Linked DNA regions of Homo sapiens: regions 2 and 3 are each linked to region 1. Evidence: promoter capture Hi-C in human tissues and cell types (Jung and others, 2019). All regions are on one chromosome and are shown on one strand. Each heading gives the region's core, a stretch centred on a gene start or on the middle of the fragment in contact. The rest is flanking DNA. Distances are from core to core; before and after follow the strand shown. Region 1 holds the start of PDZD9 (PDZ domain containing 9). Region 2 overlaps UQCRC2 (ubiquinol-cytochrome c reductase core protein 2). Region 3 overlaps MOSMO (modulator of smoothened).

Evidence for each region. Contacts are between HindIII fragments. The study calls those that stand out against the background at their distance.
Region 2: a contact is called between a fragment that was not itself captured here and the fragment with the promoter of PDZD9 in region 1, in 3 of the 25 tissues and cell types used here (dorsolateral prefrontal cortex, lymphoblastoid cells and stomach).
Region 3: a contact is called between a fragment that was not itself captured here and the fragment with the promoter of PDZD9 in region 1, in 3 of the 25 tissues and cell types used here (lymphoblastoid cells, mesendoderm cells and small bowel).

What each region holds. Positions count from the first base shown.
Region 1 is chr16:21,998,960-22,002,697 of GRCh38, reverse strand. PDZD9 (PDZ domain containing 9) reads left to right here and starts at 1,582. Exons shown (of 4, transcript NM_001363519.1): 1 at 1,582-1,681. The coding sequence starts at 1,651. It also overlaps the pseudogene LOC100420536. RefSeq lists an enhancer at 1,387-1,436. The HindIII fragment of the contact is 5,621 bases long and covers 1-2,516 here.
Region 2 is chr16:21,956,912-21,960,649 of GRCh38, reverse strand. It overlaps UQCRC2 (ubiquinol-cytochrome c reductase core protein 2), which reads right to left. Exons shown (of 14, transcript NM_003366.4): 2 at 3,332-3,415; 3 at 3,084-3,233; 4 at 2,051-2,115. It also overlaps a transcript of PDZD9 not described here. Among named protein-coding and RNA genes, the nearest start is that of UQCRC2, 5.4 kb to the right of the region's middle. The HindIII fragment of the contact is 3,067 bases long and covers 127-3,193 here.
Region 3 is chr16:22,036,915-22,040,652 of GRCh38, reverse strand. All of the region lies in intron 1 of MOSMO (modulator of smoothened), which reads right to left. Among named protein-coding and RNA genes, the nearest start is that of MOSMO, 31 kb to the right of the region's middle. The HindIII fragment of the contact is 3,291 bases long and covers 464-3,738 here.

The DNA.
Region 1 (3,738 bases), core at 333-2,832:
GTCCCAGCTACTCTGGTGGCTGAGGTGGAAGGATCGCTTGGGCCTGGAAGGCGGAGGTTGCAGTGAGCTGAGATTTTGTCACTGCACTCCAGCCTGGGTGACAGAATGAGACCCCATCTCAAAAAAAAAAAAAAAAAAAAGGAACCTAAAGAGGAATCTGCCCTGGCTTATTGTCTGTGTAGAGCCACAGAAACAACAGAATAAGCTTGGACATAACCAGATCTACCATGGAAATCTTTGCACAGTGCCTGACACCTAATAGGTGGTTAATGACTGTTTGTTGAAGGGATGGGGCAAGGTGCTTAGCCTCTCAGTTTCATCAGACCGGGGATAACACCAGGGCCTACCTCATTAGGTTTTCTCTTTCTTCTAGAATTTACTAACTCATTTATTCATTTTTATTTTTTGAGACAGGATCTTGCTCCATCACCCAGGCTGGAAGGTGGTGACTCAATCATAGCTCACTGCAGCCTTGAATCCTGGGCTCAAGTGATCCTCCCATCTCAGCCTCCTGAGTAGCTAGGACTACAGATGTGCACCACCATGCCCAGCTAATTTTTAAATTTTTTTTATAGAGAAAGGGTCTCACTATGTTGCCCAGGCTGATCTCAAACTCCTGGGCTCAAGCAGTCCTCCTGCCTCAGTCTCCTGAGTACCTAGGATTACAGGTGTTAGACACCACACCTGGCCTAGAATTTATTTTTAATAATTTATATTTTCCTAAAATTGTCCACTTCATCTGTTTTTTAAGTACAGGTTTCAAGAGGATAGAGCCTGTGTTTCTGTGTTTGTCTTGCTTACTGTTGTGTCCCCAGTATCAGTAAATGACAGAACAGCTCCCTGTAAATACTTGTTGTATGAGTGAATGTGTGTGGGAGGAAGAATTATCTTGGAAAAAAGAAGGAAGCATTAATAGTGCCTCTCCTAATAGTGACTCATTTTTTTTTAGGCCACCCTGGGGCCTTTTCTTATTCAAAACATTCATGAAAAAAAGTGCAGTTCCAAAGCATTGGAGCTACTGATGTAACAATTTTTTTAAAATACCATTATTAGAAGTGCAGCGGGGGATTCTCTGATCTTCTAGGTATTCTGTGATCTCCTGTGATCTTCTGGCTGTGATCTTCCTCTGCAGACCACCTCACATCTTTGAGACACCCTCCTCTGTGCCTTCTCCCCCTCCCTATTTCTTAGGTTCACCAAGAATGAATGAAGAAGCCAAGCGCGGTGGCTCATGCCTGTAATCCCAGCACTTTGGGAGGCTGAGGCGGGCAGATCGCTTGAGCCCATAGTGCAACAGTTGTGTTGAGCCTGAGCAACATAGTGAGACCCCCACCCCCTGCCCGTCTCTTAAAAAAAGAAAAAGAAAAGAAGGAATGAAGAAACCACCGTGGGTCAGGCACGGTGCTAACCTCTGCAGAAGTTTCCATACAGTACAATGGTGTGCAATGCCCACGCCACGTTTTGCAGGGTCCACGGGAAGCCTTGCGGCGACCTCACTGCCGCCCAATTTCTGGGCAGTGGCGGCGCAGCGCCCCCTGGCGGCCATCCCGAGGGCAGTGCCCGCGGGCAAGGTTCGAAACTGTTGGCATTGGGACTGACTCCAGCCTCTGCTCCGGGAGGCCCTCCCGGGCTGCCTGACCTCCCGGGACCATGCAGAAGGCCTCCCACAAAAACAAAAAAGGTAACTGGGGAGAAGGAAGCGGGTGAAGAAGCCCTGGGGACCAAGCCTTCGTCAATGTTCCTCCTCTGTAAAATGGCAACGGTGCACTCTTGGCCTGGGAGATAACCTCTCTCCATCGTTGTTGTTATCATCATCATCATTATCATCATCATCATCATCATCATCATCATCATCATCATCATCATCATCATTTGAGAAGGAGTCTTGCTTTGTCCCCCAGGCTGGAGTGCAGTGGCGCGATCTCAGCTCACTGCAACCTCTGCCTCCCAGGCTCAAGTGATTCCTCTGCCTTAGCCTCCCGAGTAGCTGGGATTACAGGTGCCTGCCACCATGCCCAGCTAATTTTTTATTTTTAGTAGAGATGGGATTTCACCATGTTGGCCAGGCTGGTCTCAAACTCCTGACCTCAAGTGATCCGCCCGCCTTGGCCATCGTTATTTTTATCAAGGTATAATTTCCATGCAGTAAGATCCCCCCTTTTAAAAGTACAGCTACCGTTTTGACAAGCTATACCCACGTTGAACCACCCCCTCCATCAAGATAGGGAACAGTTCCACCACTCCCTAAAATTACTTTGCAATGCCCAGTTGCAGCCAAACCCCACCCCACTGCAGCTCCTCACACCCCCATCTGTTTTTTACAGCGTTTTTTTTTTTTTGCCTTTTCCATGGAGAACATCATAAAAATGAAATCACATAGTAAGGAGCCTTTAAAAAATTATACCAATGTAAATAGGGACTTTGGCCCTTTCATTTTTATTAAAAGGGCACATAAATCTTAAAATAGCATATGGGTCACTGTATTTTATTTTTAGAGACAGAGTCTTGTTCTGTCGCTCAGGCTGGAGTGCAGTGGTATGCTCCTGGCTCACTGCAGCCTCCAATTCTTGGGCTCAAGCAATCCTCCTGCATCAGCCTCCCATAGCTGGGACTGTAGGCATGCACCACCACATTCAGCTAATTTTTTTTTTTTTTTTGAGACAGAGTCTTGCTCTGTGACCCAGGCTAGAGTGCAGCGGCATGATCTTGGCTTACTGCAACCCCCGCCTTCCAGGCGGGTTCAAGCGATTCTTGCCCCTCAGCCTCCAGAGTAGCTTGGATTACAGGCGTGAACCACCACGCCTGGCTGATTTTTGTGTTTTCAGTAGCAACGGTGTTTCACCATGCTGGCCAGGCTGGTCTCGAACTCCTGACCCCAAGTGATCCGCCCACCCTCGGCCTCCCAAAGTGCTGGGATTACAGGTGTGAGCCACCATGCCCAGCCTAAATAGAAGAGATGAGGTGTCACTATGTTGCCCAGGCTCTAATCACTTTATACTTCTGCTAGCCCCCAGGTGGGCTTACTGAAGGATGCAGACTCCTGCACTGAGCAATTCTTGTTCTTTATGGCTTTTTTCCGCACAGCATCAGGATTTGATAAGACTTGAGGTTGGCAAAGAGGCTGAACTAGGCAGGCAGGTGCCAGACAGCCTTAGGCTTTTTCACTGCAGGGCTGTTGTCATTTGGACTGCTTGTCCTTGGGAAGGTTGACATTGCTGTCTGACTAGCCTTGTAGCAAAACCTGTAAGTCTTTCATATTTTAGTCTGGTGCTTGGGGTCTGGCTCTCCGAGGACCATAGTGCTGCCTCCTCCACCTGGTTGTCCCCAAACACAGCAGCTCACTCTTTTCTGAGCTCACCCTTTTCCAGGGAGGAAGCATTGAAGATCTCACTTTCAACAGCAGTAGGATCATCTTTGTCAGTACCTTCGGGTTCCAGGGTCCCTGCCACTGGGCCCTAGCGAGCACTTTCCTCAGGTTTCATGTCTAATAGTTCATCCTGAGCATGCACTGTGTGAAGAGCCTTTGCCTAAAACACATAAAATACCTTTTCCATCTTCAGTGTTTTCCTTGTCGTGGTTTTCATCCTCTAATGAAATTAATTGACTCAGCTCCTGCACTGTTACATCTGTGCTTTCCTGCTGGGTGAGCTTCTTTTCTTCTTTCTCAACTAGTTTTTTCAGAGGGTTTTGTAAGTGCTTTAAAGTAGTGACTTCATATGGCTGATAACCTGTGAAGCT
Region 2 (3,738 bases), core at 411-2,910, 42 kb after region 1:
AAATCAGAAGCTAGAAAGGATTAAGCTTCTAAGGAAGTCAGGAAGGCATGTTAAAAACGGATACAGGTCAAAAGCTAGGCCTCTTGCACCAGTGCAGTTCTTGAAGAAAACTAATAGTGCTACTCCACTGAACACATAAATGATATGAAAGCAAGACAGACTTATTGCTGATAATACAGAGTTTTACTGGTCTGGATTAGATCAAACTGTATTCCCTTAAGTCAAAGCTTAATCCAGAGCAATGCCCTAACTCTCTTCAATTATATGAAGGCTGAGAGAGGTGAGATGCAGAAGAAAAGTCTGAAGCTAGCCGTGGTTAGTTCATGAGCTTTAAGGAAAGAAGCCATCTTCTTAATATAATAGTACACAGTGAAGCAGCAAATGCTAATATAGAAGCTGCAGCACGTTATCCAGAAGATCTACATAAGATCATCGATGAAGGTGGCTACACTAAACCACAGATTTTCAATGCTGACAAAACAGCCTTACATTGGAAGATGCCGTCCAGGACATTCGTAGCTAGAGAAGTCAATGCCTGGCGTCAAAGCTTCAAACGACAAGCTGACTCTTGTTGGGGACTAATGCAGCTGGTGACTTTAGGATGAGGTCATTTACCATTCTCAAAATCCTAGAGCCCTTAGGAATTATGCTAAATCTACTCTGCCTATGCTCTGTAAATGAACAAAAAAGCCTGGATGATAGTACATCTGTTTATAGCATGGTTGACTGAATATTTTAAGCCCATTGCTCAGAAAAAAGATTCCTTTCAAATTATTACTGCAACAATGCCAAGAGCTCTGATGCAGATGTACAAGGAGATTGACACTGTTTTCATGCCTGCTAATAGAACATCCCTTCTGCACCCCATGGATCAAGGAGTAATTTTTATTTTCAAGTCTTATTATTTAAGAAATACATTTTGTAAGGCTACAGCTACCACAGATAGTGAAGACGCTGATGGATCTGGGCAAAGTAAATTAAAAAACTTTCTGGAAAGAATTCACCATTCTAGACACCATTAAGAACATTTGTGACTCATGGGAGGATGTCAAAGTATCAACATTAACGTGAGTTTGGAAGAAGCCAATTCCAACCCTTATGGATGACTCTGAGAGGCAAGACTTCAGAGGGGGAAGAAACTGCAACTATGGTGGGAGTAGCAAGAGAACTAGAAGTGGGGCCTGAAGATGTGACTGAATGGCTGCAATCTTATGATAAAGCTTGAACAGATGAGGAGATGCTTCTTATGGATGAGCAAACAAAGTGGTTTCTTGAGATAGAATCTGCTCCTGGTTGAAGATGCTGTGAACACTGTCGAAATGATAAAAAAGAATATTACATAATCTTGGTTGATAAAAAAGTGGTAAGGTTTGAGATGACTGACTAATTTTGAAAGAAGTTCTGTGGGTAAACGGCTAAAAACAACATCTCATGCTACAGAGAAGTCTTTCACAAAAGGAAGAGTCAATCAATGCAGCAAACTTCACTGTTGTCTGATTTTAAGAAATTATCAGTCACCACCACCTTCAGCAACCACCACCTTGATCAGTCATCAGCCATTAACGTGGAGGCAAGACCCTCCACCAGCAAAGATTATGACTTGCTGAAGATTCAGATAACTGTTAACATTTTTAAAGCAATAAAATATTTTAAAATTAAGGTTATGTACTTTTTTTCCAAGACAAAATGTCATTGTACACTTAGTAGACCACAGTATAGTGTAAACATAACTTTTATATGCACTGGGAAACCACAAAATTCCTATGACTTGCTTTGCTGCAATATTCCCTTCATTGTGGTGGTCTGGAACAGAACCTGCAACATCTCTGAGGTATGCCTATATATTGCAGATATCTACTCCCAGACAGTTACTTAAATTTTTACTTTAAGACATAAAGATGTTTTACAGTTTGATATACTCAAATTCATCAGTCTTTTCCTTCTTATGTTGCTTAAGAAATCCTCAACCTCCTTGATAACAGAGAAAAGTTCCCTTAAAATTGAATATTTTCTGGCATTTTCACTATTTTCTATTACTTATTTAACAAACCTTAATTTGCCACCAACTGCTTCAATTCCACGGGTTATCTTGAAAGATGAAGCTCCTTTTGTCGTCTTGAAAAAGAAAGAATGATTATCTTTGTAGCTTTTCAATGCCAAGTTTGCCAAACATCACACTATATCAAAATCTGTTGTGAGCAGATTTAAAAAGAATTTTACTAAATTCCTGCATCCTTTTTAGTTAAGAATTATAAAACAAGGCTCAACAAAAAGCTTAAGTATACATTTTTACATTAAGTACATTCATGTAAAATTTCCACTGTCAAATACAAGCTTACTGGATTCATTAGTCTATTCTGAAAGAGACTTGTATATGGGAAAAAAAGAGTTAATTTTCTTTCAATTTGCGGCACTTCCTGTTAAAAATTTGTTTACTGATTTCTTATGCTCTAACATCAACATTCATATGGATACTAATTTAGTGCTTCTCTGTGGCAAATATCTTGTGGTTTCTCATTTTACATTAGGGGACAGTACTGGGTTTAACAGTGTTCCCCCCCAAATTTATGTCCAGCCAGAATATTTGCATGTTACTTTATTTGGTAATAAGGTCTCTGCAGATTTAAGTACTTAAGATGACATCATATTGAATTATAGTGGGCACTAAATCTAATGTAACTGGTATCCTTATCAGGAGGAAATGTGGACACAGACAGAAGGAAGGCCATGTGACAACAAAGGCAGAGACTGCAGTGATGCAGTTGCAGGTCAAGGAACATGAAGGGTTGTGGGCAACTGCTGGAAGCTAGGAACAGGCAGGGGAGGATTTGTGCCTTCCTAGAACCTTTAGAGGGATCACAGCCCTGCTGATATCTTGGCTTGGCTTAGACACCTTGACTTGGACTTCTAGCCTCTAGAACTGTAACAGGATAAACTTATTTGGTTTAAGCTACCCAGTCCGTGGTAATTTGTTATGGCAGGTCAAGGAATCAAAATATAAAGACATTGATCTTAGTTTTTCTTTTTCACAGGACCAAGATACCACAGCATTTCCAAACACTTGAGGAAGTGAAGATACTCACCAGACTGGATGTAAGACGCAGCAAATGGGTGGTTCCTAAATTGCTGAAGTCCTCATATCTACTGCCTGCTTTAATGAACAAACCAATTCTTGATACAGGAGAATAGTTTTCCAAAGAAGCAATCACCAAGCCATTTGGTAACTTGGTAAACTGTATTTAAAATAAAGTAGAGATATAATGAATGTCTTCGTATTACCAAGGAGAGTAAGGCATGTATAGCTTCCAGCGAGCAAGTTAGTGGGACTAACCTCAAGGTCCTGAGGTTGTGGCGGTGCTCCTGCAGGCGCAGCTGTGGCTTTAACTTTGGGGGCAACTTTGAGGGAATAAAATCTCTAAACATAAAAAACACAGGTTACACGTATTTCTCACAAGAACAGTGCTTTATATAAAAGCATGGTATCTTAGGGTACCCAAGCGACAGAGGGTGTTCGGGGGTGGAAGGAGCAATAACCACCTCCATGGGAGGATTTACCTGCATAACATTTTTTTTTTTTTTTTGAGACAGAGTGTCTCTCTGTCGCTCAGGCTGGAGTGCAGTGGCGCAATCTCAGCTCACTGCAACCTCTACCTCCTGGGTTCAAGCCATTCTCCTGCCTTAGCCTCCCAAATAGCTGGAATTACAGGTGCGTGCCACCATGTCCAGCTAGTTTTTGTT
Region 3 (3,738 bases), core at 860-3,359, 37 kb before region 1:
ACCTTCTGACTTCCCCCATTTTGTTTCATTCATTCAGATATTTACTGCCCATCAGTGTATGCCAGGCACTGTTTCTTCTAAATCTGGTCATAAAAAGTTATTGAAGGCAGATACCTTCAATGACAATACTGTCACTCCATCAATCACCCAGTTTGGAAATCTTGGTATCATTCTTATTGCCTGCTTCTTATTATGCCCTCTAATATGTCAAAAATCATCCTTCTTTGTAATTTTTAAAATACTTTTAAGTTCAGGGGTACATGTGCAGGTTACATAGGTAAACTTGTGTTATGGGGGTTGGTTGTACAGATCATTTCATCATCCAGGTATTAAGCCTAGTACCTATTAGTTATTTTTTCCTGATCCTCTCCCTTCTTCCACCCTCGGATAGGCCCTAGTGTGTGTTGTTCCCCTCTTATGTGTCCATGTGTTCTCACCATTTAGCTCCCACTTATAAGTGAGAACATGATGTATTTGGTTTTCAATTTTTCTTATTTGTTCCTTCTGTTTCCATTGCTATCATTATTCCTGTCCAGATCTTTATGTCCTAATGTTGAAATCATTCCAATAATTTCTTAACTAGTTTCTCTACTTCCAGTTCCTACTATATTTCATTCATTCAACAAACAGATCCAATGCCTTCCATGTGCTAGGCACATTCTGGGTGCTGAGATATAGCAGTAGTAAGACAGATAATATTTCTTTTCTCATGAAGCATATATTCTAGTGGAGGGAGCCAGTAAAAAAGTGAACATATTAATAAGCAAGGTAATTGCAGTCATAAATGCCATAAGAAAAATCATACAGGGTAAGGCATTAGATAGGAGGAGGGAGTGCTGCTATCTTAGATTCAGGGTGGTTAGGGAAGGCCTGTCTGAAAAGGAGATATCCAGCTGAGACATAGATCCTACCACACTACTTATAAATGCATATTTCTAAAATACCACTTTTATGTTATCTCCTGGCTCATGAATTCTTTTTTTGTAAGAGACAAGGACTCATTATGTTGGCCAGGCTGGTCTCGAACTCCTGGCCTCAAGCAATCCTCCCACCTTGGCCCCCCAAAGTGCTAGGACATGTATGAGCCACCATGCCCAGCCTGCTCATGAACTTTTAAAGATACCCTACTAATGATAAGACAAAGGCCAAAATTCCAAACCTAACTTTCCAACCTAATTTTCTAAAAAATTCCTTACAGATTCTGCTTCAACTAGCATTTACTGAGTTGTTAAAGGCTGTATCAGGCGTAGAGCTTGACATCTTTTCCTCAAAATATACCCAGCTGAAAATCCCTAACAAGTATTATAATTTCCTTTTTATAGATAAAAAGGAAAGAAACTTGCCTAAGGTCACCTAGCTTATAAGTGACAGAATTGGGTCACAAATAATGTTAAAAACTGCTACTTATTGACATGTATCATGTATCCCAAACTATGCGTTAAGGAGTTCACTTGTCCATTTAATTCCCATCACTGAGAACAGATTATTATCATTAGAAAACTGATATGATTCAGTATGATTATTGTTAGGAAACTGAAGCTTAGAGAAGGTTGAATAATCTGCCTGAATAGATGATTATGATTAGAAAACTGATATGATTCAGTATGATTATTAGGAAACTGAAGCTGAGAGAAGGTTAAGTAATCTGCCTAACTCACTAAGCAGTCAAGATTAGACCTGAGACCTGACTTCAATGTCTATTACAGAGCACTATGCTTAGTTCATTCATTGCTTTCTCCCATGTCATTGCTTTCTCCCATGTCAGTTTTGGATGAACACAATGGTCTCCTTTCCCACATCTCTACCCAGACTACTAAACTCTGCTGGATAAAAGTACATAACTGTAAGATTGGCATCATTAAAAAATTTATGCTTTATGGACCCAACTAGCCCCTCAATACAACCCAGAAATCTGTTTTTTTAGCTGGCTCTCTCTTATTCTGTACAGTAGCTTTTCAACCATTTTTAAAATATATACTCTTTTCAAACTTCCTACCAGTATTATCACTCCCATTTCACTCCTAGCAAGTGACCCTTCTTGTTATCTCTATAAGTCACAGAGGTGGACTCCCTCAATTTCCTACCACCATTATCTGTAACCTAACTTCATCTTCATTGGTCCTCACTTCCTTTCCTCATGTCACAAAGTGTTTCTTGTCTCCTAAAATCTATCCCTCTGTTATGCTTTACCACTCTGGTACTATTAGGGTCCTTGATCTATCAACTTTGGTGCATTATCAATCCCTCCCTCTCTGCTGGCTCCTTCTCATTACGATGGATGTTGACTAACCTCACTATCCCTTGCACAGGCAAAATTCCATCTTCACTGTTGTCTTACTCTCCCTACTAGTTATTTTGCAACCCACTGTGAATGAGGCTCCTACTTTACCACTTCTCTGAAACGTCTCTCTCCAAGGCTATTAACAATCTCTTTAAGACTAATGTACTTTTCAATTTCATCTTGTTATACTGTGAAATAAATATTTGATTTTCATCAGGCTTCCCAACACAGCCCCTGAGATCCCTGGGATTTCCAGAGTGATGAGAGTTTCTTTTGTAGCTAATGAGATGGCTGGTGGCTGGCAGCCCCTATGTAGCTTCAGGATGGGGGCTGGTCATGGGAAAGATCAAGGCATGATTAGAAGACTGGGACTTTCAGTCCCACCTTGCCAACATCCAGGTAAGGGAGAGGGGCTAAAGGTTGAATTGCTCGTCAATGGCCAAGGATTTAATCAATCATGCCTATGTAATGAAGCTTCCACAAGACCCCAAAAGGATTGGGCTCAAAGAGCTTCTGGGTAGCTAAACACATGGAGCTTCCTGGAGGGTGGTATGCCAGGAGAGGGCACGGAAGCTTCCCGCCCCTTCCCACATGCCTTGCCCTATTCATCTCTTCATCTGTATTCTTTGTAGTATCCTTCATAATAAACCAGTAAAGGTAAGTAAGTATTTCCCTGAGTTCTGTGAGCTGTCCCAGCAAAGTAGTTGAAACTGAGGAGGAGGTGATGGGAAAGTTGATTTCTAACCAGTTGATCAGAAGCACAGGTAAAAACAACCCGAGGCTTGCAACTGGCTTAGGATTGGGGGCAGCTTGTAGGTTTGACCCCTCAATCTATGGGATCTATATGCCAGGTAGATGGCAACAGAACTGAGTTGAATTACAGGACACCCAGCTGATACTTGCCGTAGAATTGCTTGGTGAGTGCAGGAAAAACACACACTTGGTCACAGAAGTTTTCCGTGTTGTGAGAGCATAGTTGGAGAAACTGATTTCATACCTTAATTCCTTTTTGGCCAAGACTGCCAACCACTTCTTTCTTCTTGCAAATACATTTTCCCGTGGCTTCTATAGTATCAAATTTTTGTTTCGTTTTCCTTTTTAGAGACCAAGTCTCATTCTGTCACCCAGACTGGAGTGCAGTGGTGTAGTCCATAGCTCACTGCAACCTTGAACACCTGGGTTCAAGTGATCCTCCCACCTCAGCCTTTCCAGTAGCTAGGACTATAGGCACGAGCCAACATGCCTGGCTGGTTTTCCTCTTGAGTCTAGCTTTTTCTCAGCATCCTTAAAATGCTGGTGACCTTCAGGGTTCTTTCCTGGGTTCTCTTGTTTCTCCTTACTCTTCTTACTCTCCCTGGAAAATATTCCTACAATAGCTTCCAAAATCAGTCATAGGCTGATGACTTTTCATTCTGTATCTCCAATCCTAGTCTGACTTATGAGTTTCACCTGCCCAC